Linked DNA regions of Homo sapiens: all the other regions are linked to region 2. The links are contacts of gene promoters, found by promoter capture Hi-C in blood cells and fetal thymus (Javierre and others, 2016). All regions are on one chromosome and are shown on one strand. Each heading gives the region's core, a stretch centred on a gene start or on the middle of the fragment in contact. The rest is flanking DNA. Distances are from core to core; before and after follow the strand shown. Region 1 overlaps LOC107986181 (a long non-coding RNA gene). Region 2 holds the start of NKX3-2 (NK3 homeobox 2). Region 3 has its middle 620 kb from the start of RAB28. Region 4 has its middle 510 kb from the start of LINC02270.

The links. Contacts are between HindIII fragments. The CHiCAGO score rates a contact against its expected background, and 5 or more counts as called.
Region 1: a contact is called between a fragment that was not itself captured here and the fragment with the promoter of NKX3-2 in region 2, in 5 of 17 cell types (activated CD4 T cells, M0 macrophages, non-activated CD4 T cells and 2 more). The highest score is 10.4, in activated CD4 T cells.
Region 3: a fragment that was not itself captured here is called in contact with the fragment with the promoter of NKX3-2 in region 2 in 3 of 17 cell types (M1 macrophages, endothelial precursors and M0 macrophages); the score reaches 11.1 in M1 macrophages.
Region 4: a fragment that was not itself captured here is called in contact with the fragment with the promoter of NKX3-2 in region 2 in 2 of 17 cell types (M1 macrophages and total CD4 T cells); the score reaches 7.1 in M1 macrophages.

Annotation. Positions count from the first base shown.
Region 1 is chr4:12,715,789-12,718,972 of GRCh38, reverse strand. All of the region lies in intron 2 of LOC107986181 (a long non-coding RNA gene), which reads right to left. Among named protein-coding and RNA genes, the nearest start is that of LINC02270, 490 kb to the right of the region's middle. The HindIII fragment of the contact is 746 bases long and covers 1,472-2,217 here.
Region 2 is chr4:13,542,992-13,546,140 of GRCh38, reverse strand. NKX3-2 (NK3 homeobox 2) reads left to right here and starts at 1,633. Exons shown (of 2, transcript NM_001189.4): 1 at 1,633-2,192. The coding sequence starts at 1,727. LINC01096 (long intergenic non-protein coding RNA 1096) reads left to right here. Exons shown (of 1, transcript NR_015450.1): 1 at 1-65. The HindIII fragment of the contact is 11,352 bases long and covers 1-2,886 here.
Region 3 is chr4:12,858,467-12,861,676 of GRCh38, reverse strand. No RefSeq gene overlaps it. Among named protein-coding and RNA genes, the nearest start is that of RAB28, 620 kb to the left of the region's middle. The HindIII fragment of the contact is 976 bases long and covers 1,108-2,083 here.
Region 4 is chr4:12,736,578-12,739,780 of GRCh38, reverse strand. No RefSeq gene overlaps it. Among named protein-coding and RNA genes, the nearest start is that of LINC02270, 510 kb to the right of the region's middle. The HindIII fragment of the contact is 6,284 bases long and covers 1-3,203 here.

The DNA of each region.
Region 1 (3,184 bases), core at 595-3,094, 830 kb after region 2:
ATGGTTGTCTCATAATTGTCTTGTCAGTGCCTGGGTATTTATTCATCCATTATTGCATTGCTACCAAGAAACACCTTAGACTGGGTGATTTATAAAGAAAAGAGGTTTAACTGGCTCATGATTCCACAGGCTGTAGAAGCGTGCTGCTGGGTTCCGCTCAGCTTCTGGGGAGGCTTCAGGAAACTTAAAATCATGCTGGAAGGTGAAGAAGGGGCAGGCACTTCACATAGCCAGAGCAGGAGCAAGAGAGAGAGAGAGAGACGGGGGAGGTGCCACACGCTTTTATACCACCAGATCTTATGAGAACTCACTTACTATTGTGAGAACAGTACCAAGAGGATGGTGCTAAACCATTCTTGAGAAACCTGCCCCCATGATTCAATAACCTCCCACCAGGCCCCACTTCCAAAATTAGGGATTGCAATTGAACATGAGATTTTGGTGGGGACACACATCCAAACCACATCAAGGTGCTATTTAAGTATTTGTTGCGATGAATGAAAACGAAGTGGTTGGTTTCTTTGTCTCCCGGTTTTCCTGGCCTGACAAAGGAGAGCTTCTGGGATCTGCCGTGAGTGCTGCTGTCTTCCTCTCTTCTCACTCCTTGTCTGGCATCTGAGCCACTTGGAGCCCACACAGAGCTGCATCCCCAAGCCCACCCTGCCCACATCCAACTCTGCTATGTGTTCTGAACATGACTTGTGTTACTCATACCCTAACACTTGACTACTAGGCAATAGGATCTTTGACGGCTGAGAAGAAGGTAGATTCTCTTATTCAAAGTCATGTTTTTGATACTTTGTATAGCATATGACACAGACTAGGTTCCAAGCCAATATTGATTAAATGAATGAGGGTACATTAAGGGATCTATCCTCCCATCTGCTCCCAAACCCAGATTTATCTCTGCGGTTTAGTTCTAATACAGTTTCTTGTGGAAGGCTTCCAAGATCGTTTCCGTACCTCTTGGATATGGTCCCACTCTTTTGTAATCCCATAATGTCTTCACAGACAGATAAAGATATTTCTTTATCACACCATGTTGCAATTCTCTCTTTATTGATCTCTGTTGCTCTCCTAAATAATTATGGGCTCTGTGAAGGTGATGGTTTTAACTGAGGCTTCCTAGTTTTCCTGACTCTTGGGGCTTTACTGGCAATAGACACTGAAGATATATTTGTTGTATAAATAAGCAAGAAAGAAATATGTAATGTTTTGCAGCATTATTATATCCTTTGAAAGTGGGAAGTTATTCCCAATGACAAGCATTCGTTGAAATGCCACTAGCTCTCTGAAGAGGTGCAACTGGGAAGAAAAGGAATAGCATAAGCAAAGAAGCAAATTATAAGATGTACCAGTCCTTGAGGTCTAGAAAATGCCTTTGCAAAGCGTCTATTGATTCCCAGAAACCTGTTAACACTCAGATGACAATAAAAAACGTGCAGACAAAGATAGCAAGGAAAATGAAGCTTCTTAAATATATCCAAAGCCATATGTTTTGGGTAGGGATATTGGGCAAGTAATTCCTTGGGAGAGATGGCCACTACTGATAAATGGCGTTTGCATGAGAAAGTGAATAACAAGTTGTGTTTCAGTGCAAGAATGCTTCACAATGTCTGACTCTTAATTATTGTTCTTGAAAAAATGGACATTTTAAAAACTCATACGTGTTGTATATGACACATACACATACACACACAAATAAAAAGATCACATATATACATTGATCAAGGTTACCTGGCTAATAAATGTTAGACTTATGATTCAGAAATGTCATTCTGTGTCTCAGGTTGCCAAATCAATTTGTTCATTCAGAAACACTAGTGGCTCAAAGACACCTACCACAGGCCAAGTACTTTACAAGGCACTTAAGGATTAGACCTCGCCCTTGCCCTTAAGTAGTTACAATCCAGTAGGAACAGTAAGTCATATCAAAAGAGCTATTATGAAATATATAATGCAGCAGGATCTCAAAGTGGGGGCACTTCCAAGTGTGGGATCAAAGTTTCTTCCCATTCCCACAAATCAATAAATACATGAGTGTAGAACTGAATTGAAACAATATTCCTTTTGTGTGGTATTAGACTATCTTATTTTGAGTTTTATTCCATAGCCGTGAGTTAGGTGGATGAGTCAAATGAAACTCAAATACTCAAAATTACAAGTTTACCTCTATTTAAAATATGTTAAGTAAAATATGTTAGGTTATAGGAAGCTTAACGTTTAAAGTCTTAGAAAGAAAGCTCTTAGCTTATAAATTTTAAAAATTGACTTTTCTTTATTTCTTGTTTTAACTTTTATTTTAAGTTCAGGGGTTTAAGTGCAGGTTTGTTACATATGTAAACTTGTGTCATGAGGGTTGTACAGATTATTTCATCACTCAGGTATTAAGCCTAGTACCCATTAGTTGGTTGTCCTGATTCTCTCCCTCCTCCCATCCTCCACTCTCTGAAAGGTCCCAGTGTGTGTTGTTCCCCTCTGTGTGTCCATGTGTTCTCATCATTTAGCTCCCACTTATAAGAACATGTGGTATTTGCTTTTCTGATCCTGCATTAGTTTGCTAAAGATAATGGCCTCCAGCTCCATCCATGTTCCTGCAAAGTATATGATCTTGTTCTTTTTTATGGCTGCAATAGTATTCCATGGTGTGTATGTGCCACATTTTCTTTGTCCAGTCTATCATTAATGGACATTTAGGTTGATTCCATGTCTTTGCTATTGTAAATAAGTGCTGTAATGAACATATGCATGCGTCTTTATAATAGAATTATTTTTATTCCTTTGTATTTGTATACCCAGTAATGGATTACCAGTTTGGATAGGGATATTTAGCAAGTAATCCCATGACAATCCTAGTAATGGGATTGCTGGGTTGAATGTTATTTCTGTCTTTAGGTCTTTGAGGAATTGCCACACTGTCTTCCACAATGGTTGAACTAATTTACACTTCCACCAACAGCGTATAAGGGTTCCTTTTTCTCCATAACCTTGCAAGCATCTGTTACTTTTTGAGTGGGTAAAGGACATAAACACACACTTTTCAAAAGCAGACATACATACAGCCAACAGTTATATGAATAAAAAGCTCAACATCACTGATCATTAGAGAGAGGCAAATCAAAACCACAATGAGATACCATATCACACCAGTCAGAATGGCTACTACTAAAAAATGGCCTTTATA
Region 2 (3,149 bases), core at 384-2,883:
TTTAATGACACCAAAACTACCAATCCTAGCAATTTAATAAATTAAAATCATAGTCCTTTAAATGTATTTAATGGTTCAAGTTTGTGTATTTGGTGTTAACTCTCTGGTAAAGTTTATGGAAAACAGTGAAGTACGTTAATTGAGCAAATTTTATATTAAAAAAGGAATAACACATTTTAAAATGTTTTTATATACCCACAATATTTGTGTTTCTTAGCTTGGTTCCTACTATTACATAATACAATGCATTTCTTATTTTTTAAAGAGCAAAAAGTGTTGTCACTTCTGGATCACTTTATGGTAATTCCTAGGTATACTTCTAAGCAAACAAACATATCTATTTATAATTTTATTCAACTCACAAGTAAGAGATATTTAAAAAAAACAAATTGAAAGTTTTTTTTTTCTTCCTGATGCAAAACTTAACAAACTCCAATTAAATTCAATATTGGTCTGCCAGGGAAACGACCATAAAATTTACAGAAATTCTCCCAAAGATGCCTTTCAATTCTTCTCCTGACTTTAGTTCTAACTATACCATTTTTTTATAATTCCTCTATAAAAATCGAATCAAATCAAAGACGACGAGGAAAGAAAAATATTTCTAGAGTGATCTTAATTAACTGATCATTTCAGCAAAGAGCATTAGCAATGAAGAAGCGGCGAAACTGTAGGGAGAAAAAAAAGGATGCATTTTGTTCTTCGTGTTTATAATCCTTCCTAGAGAACAGAAACTACGAGCATGATTTATGGAACTGCATTATCTTGGATTTTCTCCGCAGATTTGACTCAACTTAGTATCAGTGTTCTGTTAAAGCGCTGGAATAAGTGGATACATCTGCAGAGGTAAGAAACGTGGTTTGGGTCGGATGAGCCTCCTTGTTGCTGGAGGGTGCTTCGAGGACCAGGCTTAGGAGAGAAGGGGTTAAGTCAGACCCTGTCTTTAGCGGCGCAACGTGCCCAGTTTTGTCTGTTAAAGTCAACGTCGCCCAACTGGAGCCAGCCAATGGACGGCCGGGAGCGCCCGGGACAGCCCAGTGGAGGGGTGTGGCCTCAGGCTGTCACTCAGCAGTGAGGAATGACACCCGGGCGGGAGGGGGGTGGTACAGTGGAACGCAAGGGAAGGAAAGAGAAAAGAAACAGATAAAACCAGGGCAGGGGGTAAAAAAGTTCCCCGCGCCTCTCGGAATCCAGCGGCCGCGGCCGCGGCTACCGCCGCCGCCGCCGGGGGTGGGCTCCGGAAGAGCCTGCCCAGCAGGGAAGGGGAGGACGGGCCAGGAGCGAAATCCTGCAGGCGAGGAAGGGACAGACGCGCAAAGAAAAAGTGACTCGGGCTGTGCGCCCCGGCGGCGCTCGGGAGGGGACTGCTGCCACGGAGGGGCCCCCGCCAATCCTCCTTCACGTCCCCCGAGGGGGCAGACCCCAGCCCGCCCCTAAGGGCGAGAAGCGATGAGATAATCCAGCTGAGCTGCGAAAGGAGAGCGTCTGGCTCTGGATTCGGGGGGAGGGGGTCTCCGGGCGGGGTGGGCCTCTAAGGTGGGGGCGAGGGTCGGCGCTGATCCTGGGACGGAGTGGGGCGGGAGCTGCTGGGCCGCGCAGCAGTGGGCGGCGGCGGCCTCGCACACCCAGCTCACTCGCGCTGCGGCCGCCGGCGCTCTCTGTCCCGCTCGGAGCTGCTCGGCGCCCCAGCTGCCCGCCCCGCCGGCCGCTCCTGCCCGCGGCGCAGATGGCTGTGCGCGGCGCCAACACCTTGACGTCCTTCTCCATCCAGGCGATCCTCAACAAGAAAGAGGAGCGCGGCGGGCTGGCCGCGCCAGAGGGGCGCCCGGCGCCCGGGGGCACAGCGGCATCGGTGGCCGCGGCTCCCGCTGTCTGCTGTTGGCGGCTCTTTGGGGAGAGGGACGCGGGCGCGTTGGGGGGCGCCGAGGACTCTCTGCTGGCGTCTCCTGCCGGTACCAGAACAGCTGCGGGGCGGACTGCGGAGAGCCCGGAAGGCTGGGACTCGGACTCCGCGCTCAGCGAGGAGAACGAGAGCAGGCGGCGCTGCGCGGACGCGCGGGGGGCCAGCGGGGCCGGCCTTGCGGGGGGATCCTTGAGCCTCGGCCAGCCGGTCTGTGAGCTGGCCGCTTCCAAAGACCTAGAGGAGGAAGCCGCGGGCCGGAGCGACAGCGAGATGTCCGCCAGCGTCTCAGGTCTGCTGCGGCTTCGCGGGGATGGGGGCCGGGCTGAGGGGATGGACGCGGAGGGCAACCACGCCGAGTGGGGTGGTCGGCTTGAGCACCCTGCGCCCTGGGGCTCGGAGGCTGGCCAAATCCCGAAGTTCTGCGCTCTGGCGCGAGCTGCTCTATCACTTCGGGAACTGAGCCCGCGAGAGACCGGAGTAGCTCCTCAGAGCCCTACGTCCTGGGGTGAGGCCTGAGACATCCTGGGCCAATGTGCATTAGACTGGGTTGGGAGAACCGCTGCCCCTTGCGTTCGGGAGTTTTTGAGTTCGTCGCCAGTGCTTTCTGCCGTGTCTGTCCCCAAATCCCCAAAATCAGGGAAGCGGAAAAGTGAGGGGTTCAGAGACCTCAGGTAGCCAGTGACCTAGCTCTGGACCAGAGACCTGCCAGTTCAAGGTCCCAGGGCCGGGCCCCACAGTAGGTGGATAGGTGGTGAAGAACACCTCCGAGTGGGCCAGAGCTGAGAATCTGCAGAACTAGAGCTTTGGGGAAAGGGCTGGTTTGGCTTTCTCAGACCCCAGGTCTGGGAGAGCAGCCCTAGGCCGAAGATCCCGGATTGGGTCTTTAGTTCATCCTGGAGGCAGGAGAGAGGCCTCCTCAGCCGTGGCCTGTCCTGTCCTGTGGTCTGGAAGACCCGGGTGCCTGCCCTAGTTGGGTACAAGCTTCTGTAGGCCTCAAGCACAGGGGACCGCTGGACCTTTCTGCTGGAGTTCTTCGGAAGGGCGGGTACGAGACCGAGAAGCTGGTGTGGGATCAGGGTCCAAAAACTCGATGCAGGGGCAACCCTCCCTCTTTACTCTCCAGTCCATCCTCTCATCTAAGGCCTCGGCTCAGCCTGTTTCCATGTCTCTCACAGCAATCCCAGGCGGCTGAGGGTGAAAGATTCTAAATACCTTTGGCCCCAGGATCCGCCTCCACCTTCCCTTA
Region 3 (3,210 bases), core at 346-2,845, 680 kb after region 2:
ACAGAGTGCTTAAAGGAGACACAGCTAGTCAGATAAGCATTTGTAAATAGTCCAGAACACCATGGGAGTGTAAACAGAACATGAACACCTACCTCAAGCTCAAGCCAACACTTGATCTGAATCTTAAAGTCTCAGTGGGAGTTAACTATGCAAACACAGATGACAGAGGAAGGGCATCAAATTATGATGGAATAGTGTGGACACATGTAGATGCAAGAAACAGCCTTTGTGTTTCACAATTCTAAGAAGTTCCGTTAACATTTTATTCTGTGTGCACCAATTTTTGCAGGACAGCAATCATGTGGGAAACAGCATAATTTAATTTCATTAGATTTTGGAAAAGAAAGAGCTGGAGAAGCCTACCCGTAGAAGAATGTTCTGGATTTTAGAATAATTAACACAATGCAGGGGATTCAGATATGGGAAGGATGAAGTAAGAATACTCCATCCTGGATTTTCCATGGAAAGCAGCTATAAAACCTGGACTGAGTGAATGGAGAAGATACTTTGAGTACTCTAAAAAATAACTAGTAGCAGGAGGGGTGGCGAAGAAGGCCAAAATTCAATGTATCACTGAATCAGCAGTGAGTTTTTCATTCTTTTTTACTTTGGTATCCACGTGGCCTGGTGCAACCCACCCCAGAACATGAAAGAACTCAAGAGAAGTACTCTCGTTACAGCTTGAGTAGTAAGGACAGATTTCCTAATGGCCAGAGAGAATACAGTAAATGCTTATTTGCAAAATATCTTATATTTCAGCCTGTAGCTTCTCACAAACACCTAGAATTCTGAGTAGAAGCTTCCTGTTGGATACAGAAGCTGTGCTTTGAAGAGGGAGGAGAAAACTCTTATTTCTATACCCCCACCCCTACCTTTTCTGTCCTCCACAGCTTAACCCCAGACCTGTGCACAGCAAAGGGGAGTATGGAAGACTCCGGTGAATAAATCAGCTTTTAGAATAGTAGGCTAAAAAGAGGGGTCCTAGGAAATGAGAAGATTTTGAGATTTCAGAGAGGAAGGACTTCCAAAAATTCACCTAAAAATTATTTGTGAATTTCTGGACACACCCCAAGCTGTGCATGCATGGATCTACTAACACTAAAAGCTTAAGATTATCCATATGGTTTAAGCAAGACTTAGTATCTCATAAGGTAATACTCAAAATATCTACAACACAATCCAAGCATTACTCAATATATAAAGTATCAGGAAAATCTTAACTTGAGAGAAACAGAAAATCAACAAATGCTAGTTTGAATTATCTGGCAGACTCAAAATAGCTATTTTTAAAATGCTTCAGTAGGTTAAGGTAAACGTTGTTGAAATAAATGGGCAGGTAGAAGGTCTTAACAAAAACAAATAGAAGATATAAAGAAGAAATGACTGGAAATTAAAAACAGAAAAACACATTAACCAAAGTAAAAGTATCACAGAAGGGGCTTACTAGCAGAATGAATATGCTAGGAGAAAAAGTCAGTGAACTTGAAATATGTCATTAGAATTTATTTAATTTGAAAAACACAGAGAGAAAAGATGGAGAAAAAGGAACAGAGTCTCGGAGACTAATGGGAAGATATAAAAATCTAACATTTATGTCAAAGAAGTCCCAGAAGGAGATGAAAAATAGTGTGCAGAGAAAATATTTGAAGAAATAATAGTAAGAAAGCCTCTCAAATTTGACAAAACCCATAAACTTACAGATTTAAGAGGTTGAACAAACTCCAAACAGAAAACAAACGAACAAACAAACAAACAAATTCACACTTGGAGACATTATAATCAAGCTGCTGGAAAGTAAAGAAAAAATATTGAAGACGACAGAGAAAATGATGCATTACTTAGGAGAGCAACAATTTCAATGACTGTAGATTTCTCATCAGAAACCATGGTAGCCAGAAAGAAGTAAAAAAAGCATTTTTAAAGGGCCTAAAGAAAAACACAGTCAAACTCCATCGAGTGAAAAATTCCTGCAGAAATGACAGTGAAATAAAGCTGTCTCAGATAAAGAAGAACTAAGAGAATTTGTTGCCAGCAGACTTCCTCTAAAATAACTGTTAAAGAATTTTGTTTTCAGAACAAAGCTTTTCTTTTAAAAAGAAAACTATCGTTAACATTTAGCTATATTAGTATCAGACAAAGTAGACTTCAGAGCAAAGAACAATAGGGATAAAGTGAGACATAACATAATGATAAGGTCAATTTCTCAAGAAGCCATAAAAGTCCTCAATGTGTAAAATAAGTACTGACAATAGAATTTCAAAACATATGAAACAAAATTTGACAGAACTGAAAGAAGTATACAAATCCACCATTATATTTAGATGTATTACCTCTGCTCTCAGTAATTCAACCTCCGTTCTCAGTAATTGATAGATTCAGTGGATACTGAGTCTGCAAGGATATAGAAAAACTGAACAACATCATCAAAGCTGGATGTTTTCACACTGACGTTTTACATATCAACCAACAACCGAAGAATGTACATCCTTGTCTTCAAGTGGACAGAGATCATTCACCAAGATAGAATGTATTCCAGGTCACAAAACAAATTTAAAAATTAAAATCACTTGAAATCATACAAATGTTACTCTTTCATTCTAATAGATTAAACTAAAATCAATAACAAAGATTACAGGAGACTCTCAAACACTTGAAAATTAAATAGGCTGGGTGCAGTGGCACATGCCTGTAATCCCAGCACTTTGGGAGGCCCAGGTGGGTGGATCACAAGGTCAAGAGATCGAGACCATCCTGGCCAACATGGCAAAACCCCATCTCTACTAAAAATACAAAAATTAGCTGGGCATGTTGGTGTGTGCCTATAGTCCCAGCTACACGGGAGGCTGAGGCAGGAGAATCGCTTGAACCCGGGAGGTGGAGGTTGCAGTGAGCCGAGATCGCACCACTGCACTGCAGCATGGGGACAGAGTGACACTCCGTTTCAATTAAAAAAAAAAAGAAAAAAGAAAAGAAAATTAAACAGCATGCTTTTAAGTATTTTATGAGATTTAAAAAATATTGTATGCATCTTAGGTGCAAAACATTATGTTTTAATATAAATAGTGAAGTAGTTGCTATAGCTAAGCAAATTAAGATATCCATCATCTTGCATAATGATGCATTTTTGGTCTTAAAATAGTCTAAAGTCCACTGTCTTAGCAAATTTCCTGTATAGGATACAATATTATAATTAGAGTTATGTGCTACAAA
Region 4 (3,203 bases), core at 568-3,067, 810 kb after region 2:
GAGCACAGAAAGAAGATCCCAAAGGGGAAGTACCCTGTGATTTCATTTACACGTGGTTCTAGAATTGGCAACACCAATTTGTATAGACATCGGCATAGTGCCTCCTTTTGGAATGCAGACATGCTTGGGGCCTCTATGGTGATGGAGTGATCCTGATTTGCTTTGTGGATACGTGTGTGAAAAGGCATTGAGCTGTGCAATCATCATTCATGATTTATGCACTTTACCTTACACGTAAACAAAATTAGCAAAAAGTTAATAGTGAACTCTATCACAGGAATTTTTCTTTCAGTTTTTTTAATTTTTATTTTTTGAGACAATGTCTCACTGTGTCGCCCAGACTAGAGTGCAGTGGAGAGATCTAAGCTCACTGCAACCTTTGCTTCCTGGGCTCAAGTGATCCTCCTGCTTCAGCCTCCTGAGTAGCTAGGATTATAGGCATGTGCCACCATGGCCAGCTAATTTTTGTATTTTTTGTAGAGACAGGGTTTTGCCATGTTGCACAGGCTTGTCTGAACCTTCTGAGCTCAAGCGATCCACCCACCTTGGCCTCCCAAAGTGCTGGGATTTCAGGTGTGACCCACTATGCCTGGCCTCTCAGGAAATTTTTTTAAGAATATGGTAAACAGAAGAGGCTCAGATAACATAAATTTTTAAAAACTCACATATATTCCTTTGTTTGCTTTTAACAAACATAAATTTTAAAACTCCTGTTATTAGTTGAGATGTGAATACAACCCATTATTCCTTAGTAGAAGTTGATATTTTCAACATTTTCTATTATTTTATGATCATATTATCCTCAAAGTTATTTTTTAGGTATGTAATGTCTGTGCATAGTTCAAAGTCCAAATGATGTAAATCGCAAATAGATGCAAATTTTAATTAAGGTTTTAGAGGTTATTTGTATTATTAGTAATTTTTCTGGGTTATGTGGTTGGCCTAGCAGTGTTCATTATATTTCAAATAAATTATTAAAAACAAATAATACAAATTACAAAATGGAAAAGATGGCAGTGTGTGAAGCAATAATAATAATATGGCTTGAACTTAGAGTTATGAGTAATTCAATTCTATCTTTAAGTACAACATAAAATAATAAAATAATAAAACAACAGCAGCAAATTCTATTAAAAAGCGATTTTACCTCTTACTTTTTCTTCTCCCCTTATGTATTATTTTAGAGAAATTCTGATATATTTTATTCTTTGTCTTTGATTTGCCTTTTCCGCTTAACACTGTGTCGTGATCTCCTTCCATATTTATTCATATGGAAGTGCCTCACCCTTTTGAATGGCTGCTTAGCCAATTATTGTACAAATATGCCATAATCTATTTAACCAGTATTCTATTAATGCACATTTACATTAGGCTCAATAGTGTGATATTATAGACAATAATGGCCTTAATATCCATGTATATATAAATGTCTTTGTCCACAAATGTCAGGGTATGTAGAGGACACATTTCTGCAAGCCAAATAGCTGAATCAAATGGTACGTGCATCTAAATTTTGGTAGCTACTGCAAAATCCCATATAGTTTGAACCAATTTAAATTTCCACTAACAATGTACAAGTATATTTTTTCCCTTACCAACAGTGTGTGTTCTCAAACTTTTTGATCTTTGCCAAGCTACATCAAAAATGGTATTGCATTGTATTCGTTCCTTTTCATACTGAAATAAAGAACTACCTGAGACTGGGTAATTTATAAAGGAAAGAGGTTTAATTGACTCACAGTTCTGCATGGCTGGGGAGGCCTCAGGAAACTTACAATTGTGGCAGAAGGTGAAGGGGAAGCAAGGCATGTCTTACATGGTGGCAGGAGAGAAAGAGAGTGAAGGGGGAACTGCCACACACTTTTAAACCATCAGATCTCATGAAAATTCATTCATTATCACAAGAACAGTATGGGAGAAACTGCCCCCATAATCCAATCACCTCGCCACTAAGTCCCTCCCTCAACACATGGGCATTACAATTTGAGATGAGATTTGGGTGGGGACACGGAGCCAAACCATCTCATGCATTGTTGTTTTAATTTGCTTTTTGCATATAACAAGTAGTACTGAGCATATTTTCAGGTATATAAGAGCCATTTTTAAATTTCTATTTACCATCTGCCCATATATATGTGTGTGTGTGAGTATACACACACACACACACTCACACACAGCTGAAATCATCAAACCATATAGAGCTTATTGTGATGAAAGGAGTAGGATGGGGACATAATTTGATATTTATTCCAGTTTATTCCACTATCATCTATGGAACAGGATCTCTTTATTCTACTGATGTACAATGTTACATTTTCATACTCTTTTTTTCTTTATTTTTTCTAAAAAAAAAAGGACATATTTTCATATTCTAAGCTCTCATATATGTTTGAATTTCTCTCTGGATGCTCTTCCATTGATTTGTGTCTGCATATACATGTGTCATTATTACTCTTAATAAGCTCTGTGATATTTAATATTATATAGGACCTGTCCACTGTATCACTCTCCCTTCCACCCAGAATATTTCTGGTTGTTGTTGTTTGAGAAAGAATCTCCTTCTGTCACCCAAGCTGGAGTGCAGTGGAATAATCACAGCTCAGTGCAGACTCAACTTCCCTGGGCTCAAGTGATCCTTTCACCTCAGCCTCCCAAGTAGCTAGAACTACAGGGGCATGCCACCACACCTGGCCAAATATTCCTGGTTCTTTTAGAATGAGGTATGTTAGTTAAACTTCTGGACTCTGAAGACAGAATGTTTGGGTTCAAATACAGCCTTTGCCATGTACTAACTGTATAAACCTGTACAAGTTATTTAACCTCTCTGTTTGTTGAAGTCATCATATATAAATATGGGAATAAAATAATGTTATTGATGAAAGTGTATCATTTAATACATCTGTAATGCTTAGAAAAGCACTTCAGGGAAATGCAACAGTACATTTATTATCATTCTTGTTTATTTGTTTTTCCACATGAAACTTAGATTTATTATTGCCTAGTTCTAAAAAATATACTTTTTTATTGTTATTGCATTAAATTTATAGATTTAGAAAGAATTGAAACTCTATGATATTGAGTCTTTTTATCCAAACACAAGTATGCTTTTTTGTTTATTTTAGTCTTGTTATGGGTCTCTCTTAGTAGTTTATTAAGTATTTTCTCATCTCGATCCTGCTAAATTTCTATAAAAATTTATCTAT